3 separate regions of the Homo sapiens genome follow, and all the other regions are linked to region 3. Evidence: promoter capture Hi-C in human tissues and cell types (Jung and others, 2019). All regions are on one chromosome and are shown on one strand. The core of a region is centred on a gene start or on the middle of the fragment in contact, and the rest is flanking DNA. Distances in the headings are between cores, read along the strand shown. Region 1 overlaps BMPR1B (bone morphogenetic protein receptor type 1B). Region 2 has its middle 180 kb from the start of PDHA2. Region 3 holds the start of UNC5C (unc-5 netrin receptor C).

Region 1 (2,700 bases), core at 155-2,654, 390 kb before region 3:
TTCATTAAACACAAAGAAAGCTTTTTTTTTTTTTTTTTTTTTTTTTTTTTTTTAATGTGCAGAGGATTGACCTGTGCATGCTTTTGATCTCTCATTCAAAGGATCAATATTAAATAAAATTGTCATGAGCTGTGTTGAAGACAGGGTGCTTTCAAATAGAGGTAATTTGCTCTTGTGTTGTAAGAGGAACATGTCAACAAAGATAGGAAATGAGGGTGATCGTGCAGATGGCTTGTATCTTATATATGCAAAGGAGCCAATCTCAGAAGCACAAAGAAAAAAGTGTGCATACCTTATTTTGTACAGATAAAGATGATGTCTTTTTGTTATTGTCTGTCTGTTTTGTATGTGTCTGAGATAAGGGATAGAGAGGAAACATCCGTCAGGCTAATTTAACTACATTTTATTTTAAAAATAGAGAAACATAACCTCTAGATGGGACAGCAGAGGACAGTTAGTAGAGGCCACAAACTGTTATGGGCTGCTGTGTTTTGTTCTAAAATCAATATGGTTGGAGCATGTATATCTTAGGTGATCATTTCACATCTTAGGAATGCCTACTCATTTTATTTTATTCTAGTGATGCTCAATTCACTATTTAATTTATTATATTTTCTCTTCTGTGGCACTTATACAAAATATCTCTTCACCTACTTAGTTCTACAGGGTTTTAACTTTGGAGCAACATGAATAAAATCATCGAGAAGGCCAATATTGTTTAGCAACATGAATACAATACAGTTTAAAGTTGTACACATCCTGCTCAACTTTATTCATATACATTTCCTTTCTGTGGTTTTCTTTTGCTTCTTAGAAATTCTGTTAGTGGTTAGTAAAGAATTTGAAAGTACTTTCTCCTTGCTGTTTTTTTTTTTTTTTAAGACATTCCTCCCAGAATACTCCAGGGGGCAGTGTTTTATAACACATTTTCCCCACTGGGTGATTGAAGGATGGAGGATTTTTGAAAATTTGACAGCTACATGAAACATGAGAAAACATTTTCCTCACTTCTGAAGTCGGTTTGCAGCTGGTAACTTGTTCATCCAGAAAACATTCTAAAGCAATGAGACTTTGTGAGCTGTGCTTACAGTTTGGGAGAATCATGAAGATTCTTTCTATATTTTGCATTTACTTCCCAGTGCTTCATAGCTGCATTTTGTTTGTAACTAAGACAGAAGAATTTCGTAATCCTTGAAATTGAAAAAAAAAAAATTGTGTTTTTAAAGAGTGAAAACAGTTAGAAAACAAGTAGAACTGTAATCAGAACGCTGCTTCAATTGATATTAAAAATAACCTCAATAATAATGTAAAGGTTCCTTTCTCTTGTGTCAGTTATATTCTTAGGGATAGCCTAGAAGGAATATATGGTTAGAACTAAGTGTGACTAATCATCTGAGCCTTGAAGAGAAACTTCAGTGCCTCTAAACAGATCATCTACAAAACAACAGGTAAACATTTATGCCAGTTAAGTGGGTCATGTTTTTGTTTCTTGGGTTTTTCCTAAATTTAAGTGAGGTTGGGCTTACCTTGTAGATAAAATTATGTTTTCTTTTTGGTAAATACTTGAACGTGGATAACGTCAAATCAGAATATTTTGTGAGGAGGTGATGATTTGAAATTAAGCTAGATTTCTAGGGAGGTGTTGGTTCCAATGAAGGATGGGAAGAAATTAAAATAGTCTTCAAACTTCTTCCTTATTATATTTGGTTGCTTTGGAAAAGATTGGTCCTATCCTCAATCTAATTTATTCACTATTAATATTTTAAAAACATTCCTGAGATACTTAAAAAGACCCACTTAGCGATTATAGTTGCTCAATGAAACAAGAATTTATTTATGCATAGATTTTTCTCTGTATCTTACCAAAATCCACTTTACTTAGATAACACTAAATTGTTCTTAAAGACTACTCATTTCCCAATAATCCTTTATGATTTCAAAATTTCTAGTGGCTCAGAAGTGAATTTTATTTTATTTGTCTTTCACTTGAATAAATGAGAACCCAGAAATTAATAATGTTGTTTATTGCTTACTGTCAGGACTATTTCAAAGACTAAGAAGAGTTTCTTCTAACCCCTCCCTCTCAAAGGAATCCTAAATTATTAGTTGTTAGATAAGTTTTGTATGCTAAGATATTCAGGTTTATAGTTTATGTATGTGTGTATATATATAAATATATATGTATATATAAATATTATGTTCAGTTTGGAGTCTGGCACAACTCCATTATGTGGATTAGAGAGTAAGATATTATGGATGATAAAGTACTAAATGAAACATAATATTTATTTATAAAAGTGTGTAGATTGTTAAATCACAAAAAGAGTGCTATGACCATTATGTATGAGGAAACAGGCCTTTGACCTCCTGGAAAGCACTGCTCAAAAGTCATTAGTGCCCATTTTTGAATTCCCCAAACAGAAAGCTTCTTAGAAAACATGCTGAGATTTTATTTACAGGGAATTCTTTGACACATTTCAATTGGTGTGTAGTCAAGTATAGCAAGTACTTAATAATGACTGAATTTCATGTTCCTACAGTCATACATATTCATTAGAAGTTTTATGTTGTTGGTCTGATCTGATTCTTCTTTGTTTGTGGGTGGAACGGCACTGAGAGAAGTATAGTTTTTTAAACTTGAACATGTTCAGTAGTTACATTGCCTTAGAAAACCCAGACACATAGCAGTGGAAATGAAAG
Region 2 (2,700 bases), core at 93-2,592, 470 kb after region 3:
AGACTGACAGTCTGCGAAGTTTTCTTACTTTCCTACTGTAGAAAGGTCAGGCTTTTATTAAACATAACTGCCCTCCAACACCCCCTGAGGATCTTAGACATAGATATTTTTTGGGGATTTTGGCATAAAGTTTGCTATTTTAGTCAGTATTTAAATTGACATTTACATTTTTGTACCTTAATCCTCTCTGCTGATATCCTGGATGCCTGCCTATGTTATATATATTCTTTCTGATAAAGTTTCTGAAATGAACTAGTGCCAGCTGAGGAGCAAATTCCTTTGCTATCACTGAGGTAAGCACTGGAAATTGAGGAACATTTTAAAATTTGCAAAGTTTCTCTTTAGCAGTGGAGGAAAAAAAGCCCCTTACCATCAGTTTCTGTTTAATTCAGAGGCCAATTCACCATATTTTTCAGGAAGACTGATAAGACATAACTTTGTATGTATTTGTAACTATTCTTTCACTTTAGGGAAATGAAAAGAATGAAAAGTGAAAAAGTAGGTTGAGAAAACAGAATTTAATAGTTTTAAAAATTGTAACATGCTCTAAAATGGGGTGTCTTAAATTACTAAACACTTTCCAAATTATACATAGCGGTAGGAGAAAATAGGATGCATATCATAAAACAGATGTGGCAAGTTCAGATTAACTGTTAGGTTTTGAACTTCTGGGGTTTTCTTTCATTACACTCTAAACCCTATGTAGATAGGATCAGATCTTTGTTGATTAATGTTTTGTCCAAAGTCATTAGCATAGAGCTTGAAACATTTATCAGTGATCAATAAATATTTGGTGAATTAGAACCAATGAACATATGAGTTGTACTTTAGTTACCATGGATTATTTATGGATAAAATAAGACTATTTCCACTAAAATGGAGGTTCCACTGATTATACTTTGGCCAGGGTTTCCTGGCCAAGAACATGACTATACACATGGATGAACAGAAGACTATATGAGAGAAGGATTTGGAATCAGATGTGAACCCTGGGAAGTATATATATATGCTACTCTCAACTTTTGCCCAAATAGTCCTTCTGAGAAGCCATTTCAAGATAAAAGTCACAGTGGCCAAGAGAGTTAGATATGTAGTTGCAAATGGGCAAGACTTCCTAATAAGTGATAATCAGGTGTTTGCTATTAATGAATTCAATAATAATCTTACAGGATGTTTTAAAGAAGCCTAACTATTAATGTAAAGCTTGTGAAGATACACTATTATTTTAAAAGCTAAACTAGATAATAGATAAACAAGATAATAGAGAAACAAGAAAAGAGAAGTTGTTTTTCTTTAACATTTTTCCTCTTGTTACATGATGAGGATTTCTATGTGTGTAGGATCCAAGGATAAAGTGAAAGCTTTTCTTATTGTCTGAAAGGAAAGATAGCATATTCTGAAAGGCAGAGTAGTATGTTGGCATTGTACCGACTGACTATGCATTAGATCAGACAGCAAATTAGATATTGATAGAACTATTTTGGACAGTCAATAAGCTTTCTGATGATTGATATCTTTACACTGCCTGGTAATATCAGTGCCAGCATTTAGAAACTAGACAAAGAAGCTGTAATATAATATTCTTTTTGTGGAATCCTTAAGTGTAATCTAAACTGAAAAGTCTCATTACTTAGATAGCAGGATTTACAGAGCTGACTTTCTCAGGAACAAGGGAAAGAAAATTAAAACATCATCCATTCCTTTGTGTACAAAACTGTCCTTCACCCTTCAATCTGAATCAGAGGGCAAAGAAGTCAAGTGGTTTAAAGTTCTTCTGATATGTGGCAAAAAAAGTGGTTCACAAAAGCAGTCAGCAAAAGTATACCCTGAAGAATAAAAGTAAACGAAATGTGAAGCAAATGGTTCATTTCATTAGGTGACTGTTTCTGATAGGACATTTAGATTAAAACACAGTGCTCAGGAAACCACAAAATATATCACTGTCTCCTTCTAAATAATAGTTTCTGAAATGTAATCAGGAAAGTAGAAGATAATGATAAAAGGCACTGTGACATGTAATGGCCTCTGTTTTTCTTTCTCCAATCTCCTCTCATCCTCCATTTTATTGTTCATGAAGAATTTTTCTACAAATTTAATCAATCAATCAATCAATTAATTAAATGTGTGTTTATTCCCCCATTTATTCAGCCAGCAAATATGTGTTGGCATGGTTATAGACAGTGGAATTCAGTAGATGGTGAAACAAACAAAAATACCTTCTCAGAGCTTAACCTCTAGTGGGAGAAGACAGATGATTAGCAAATAAATAAGTAAAGTATATAGGAGATCTATTGATGATCAGTGCTAAGTAGATGAATAAAGTCAGTAAAGAAGTTAATAAATGCCATGAGATGAGGTTTGCTATTAGGAATGGCAGATGAAATATGAGATATTTAATTATATTTGGATTTTAATTAAAAAGCCACACATAATTATTTTAGTAAAAGTATATCCCAAGTATTACTAGATGAACAAAAAGAAACATGATTGGAGAAGAAGTCATAATGCATGTTGTGAGGAAATTATGCAGTAGTCTTACATATGCTTTGAAGAAGTGGTGGAAATATTGAACATACTAAGTAGAACCATAAGAGGATATAAAAGTCCAAATTGGAATTTTAGATGTGAAAATTAAAATGCCTGAGATGAAAAATATACTAGATGAGATTAATGGCAGATAAGACATTTCTGAAGAAAAGA
Region 3 (2,700 bases), core at 180-2,679:
TCCCTGAATTGCCTCTGAATGCTGCATAAGCTTCCTTCATTCTCTCCTCTTCCAGGAAAAGCTGAGCTGCCTCGCCTGAGCCGGCTATCACCACTGAAGTGGGCTAAGAGACCCAAGTAGGAGCTGGGCTTGGCCAGAAGTTTTGGGGCCCAGGTGACCTGAAAGAGACCCCGGAGGGGACAGCCTTGGCTCTTTCTTCTGCGCTCCCTTCCAGTCAGCTTTCCCGGCTTTGAAGGCTGGGAGCTGCTGCTAACACTTCAAACTAGGCGGACAAGAAGGGAGCCGGGCGATCAGCTCCGGAGCCTCCCCTCCTCCCTTACCCATCCCCAACTCCCGGCCACACTCTTCCCAACCCGGCTTCGCCCAGGGCCCCGGTCACTTATGTTAAAGTTCACAGGCGTTAAATTAAAATGTCAGAGTTATAAACTGGTCGACTACCCCGGGGAGTTTCGGATTTGGTTTGAACAAGCAGCCGGTTCCCCCAGAGCTCCGGGATTTTCATTTCTACATCCCCTGGTGGGAAGCAGGCATGAAGCGGGGTATGTATGAGTGCAGAGGCATGCACATCCCGGGCCTGCCTCCAGCCGGGTACGCGGATTCGGGTGAGCTGTGTATTTCCACAGCACCTGAAGCAGCAGGCGAGGGGGACGGGTGCTTTTGAGTCCTTGACAGTAATGGACACATTTCCTTAGCTGAGCGCCCTTCGGGGTCTAGTGTGCTCAGAGACTCAGTGAAGATCCTGCTACCCCAGTCTTGGCACAGCGCGGGGAGCCTCTGCGCATCATGCGCTTCGGGGTGCATCTACGGTATGTCACACAGCCACCCGCACCGAGAGTCTTTCCAAACCTCCGTGTGTGCAATATGCAACAACGTGCGCGTGCGGAGCTGAAAGGGCACAAGACACTCCAGGCTCCCACACGTATGGAGACGGATCGGCTGCGTGTCCACACCCCGTTCGTCCCTGGTCCATTCGTGCCCATCTCAGAAGATAGATTAAACATAATAATAATAATAATTATTATTATTATAATCAAAGCTTCTTGACTAGTTGGGAAAGTGGAATTTAGAGTGGTTTCCAGTTGAAAGCAACGAGGCAAATTGAGGAAGTCAAGAGAACTGGGGAGGAGGAGAGGAAGGAGGGAAGGAAGAAGCTAAGGGAGGTGGCCGCGGAGCTTGGCGGACCCCCTTACCTTGGGCGGCGGAGCCAGTGCCGCTGGCGCTGAGCAGGGCCAGGGCAGGTAGCACGAGCATTTGCAGCAAGTATCCCAGTCCCAGTCCGCAGCGGGCCGCTGTCGCCCGCAGACCTTTCCTCATCGTAGACAGAGGTGTGCCGGGGGGAGGGGAGGGGGACAGAGAGACGCGCAAACAGCTGAAAGCCCCACTGGGCAGAAGCTGAATCCGTGCACCGCGAAGCAGTCCGAAGAAATAACGACAACCAAGCGCCACACTCCACTTTCTCCAAAGGCAGGGGCCAAAAGGGGGAGGAGAGGAGACGCCGAGGAGGAGTTTGAAGGTCCCTCTTTCCCAATGCCTTCTAACTGACGTCTCCCGCGAGCGACTGCTCTGCCCCCACTTGGGAAGTCCAGGGAGGCGCAAGGCGGCCACCTCCGCCGCTCCCCCCAGCAGCAGGAGCAGCCGCAGCTCCGCCGCACGCCGAAGTCTGGACTGCTCTCCGGGTCCCCTCGCCTGTGAGGAACACACACAGACACCGGGGGTGGGGGTGGGGGTGGGGGTTGAAGTGGGGGGAGTTGGAGGAGGAGGGAACGGAGGGAGGAAGCTTGGGCACCGTCAGGCGCTCTGGTCTCCAATCTCAGTGTTCTCACGCCGGCGGAGAGATGTCCCGGCTGTCGCTGCTGGGTGGCCAAGGAGGTTCACATCCTAGAGTAGGGCGCACGGGTGCGCGAAGGCGCTCGCCAAGGAGGCGTAGAGGGCGCAGCACAACTCCTCTGGGGGGTAACCGGGGGCGGGAGCACGCCCGCCCGCCTTATGTAAGCAAGGATTGCAGGGAGATCAGCGCCCAGGAGACCAGCTGTGGGTTTGCCCGCTGAAGCCGAGGCGAGACAGACCAGGGGACGAAGCGGCTGCGGAGAGTGGCAGCGCGCCTGCCTCCCGCGGTGCGCCAGACCTGGACGCCGGGAGTGCAGCGGGCGCGCCCCGGGCCACTAGGCTGTGTCCAGTGGAGCTCAGCCTGCCGCCTGCCACCTTCTTCGCCGCGCCGGCAAAGCCTCAGCCGAATTCCCTAGGACTGGACTCGGTCTACGACTTCGGGTCTCGCGGTTGACGAAGCCGGTGCGGGCTCGAACTGAAGTCCTTCTTGGTTGGGGAAGAAGGCATGAAGCTTTTGCACTGCCCCAGCCGGCTGCTGTCCTGGGGTTGTCAGCGCCAGTCAGACTGCTTTATGTTCTGAGCGCGTATGACCCCTTTGCAGTGGAACAGAAACTAAAAGCTCGACGGAAACTCATTCTGCAACAGTGCTTTCTTTGCGTGCATGTTGGTGGCTGACAAGGGTGGTGATGCGATACCGAGAGAAACTCTCTTAGAAAAAAAAAATGCAAAGCAAAATTTGTAGATACTCAAAGTGATGGTGGAGCCTATAACATGTTTTTCAAATTTCTAATAGTGTGTGTAAGAACTCGAGCTGCTATGAATTTGTTTACCTTTCTACAGGAAATAATTGTCTACGTAGCTGGGTTGTGAATC

The links. Contacts are between HindIII fragments. The study calls those that stand out against the background at their distance.
Region 1: a fragment that was not itself captured here is called in contact with the fragment with the promoter of UNC5C in region 3 in 2 of the 25 tissues and cell types used here (dorsolateral prefrontal cortex and hippocampus).
Region 2: a contact is called between a fragment that was not itself captured here and the fragment with the promoter of UNC5C in region 3, in 1 of the 25 tissues and cell types used here (dorsolateral prefrontal cortex).

What each region holds. Positions count from the first base shown.
Region 1 is chr4:95,155,455-95,158,154 of GRCh38, forward strand. It overlaps BMPR1B (bone morphogenetic protein receptor type 1B), which reads left to right. Exons shown (of 13, transcript NM_001203.3): 13 at 1-2,700. Among named protein-coding and RNA genes, the nearest start is that of UNC5C, 390 kb to the right of the region's middle. The HindIII fragment of the contact is 5,361 bases long and covers 1-2,700 here.
Region 2 is chr4:96,017,215-96,019,914 of GRCh38, forward strand. No RefSeq gene overlaps it. Among named protein-coding and RNA genes, the nearest start is that of PDHA2, 180 kb to the left of the region's middle. The HindIII fragment of the contact is 3,002 bases long and covers 1-2,700 here.
Region 3 is chr4:95,547,544-95,550,243 of GRCh38, forward strand. It overlaps UNC5C (unc-5 netrin receptor C), which reads right to left and starts at 1,430. Exons shown (of 16, transcript NM_003728.4): 1 at 1,191-1,430. The coding sequence starts at 1,314. It overlaps UNC5C-AS1 (UNC5C antisense RNA 1), which reads left to right and starts at 1,605. Exons shown (of 5, transcript NR_183914.1): 1 at 1,605-1,688. RefSeq lists an enhancer at 1,872-2,001. The HindIII fragment of the contact is 1,524 bases long and covers 534-2,057 here.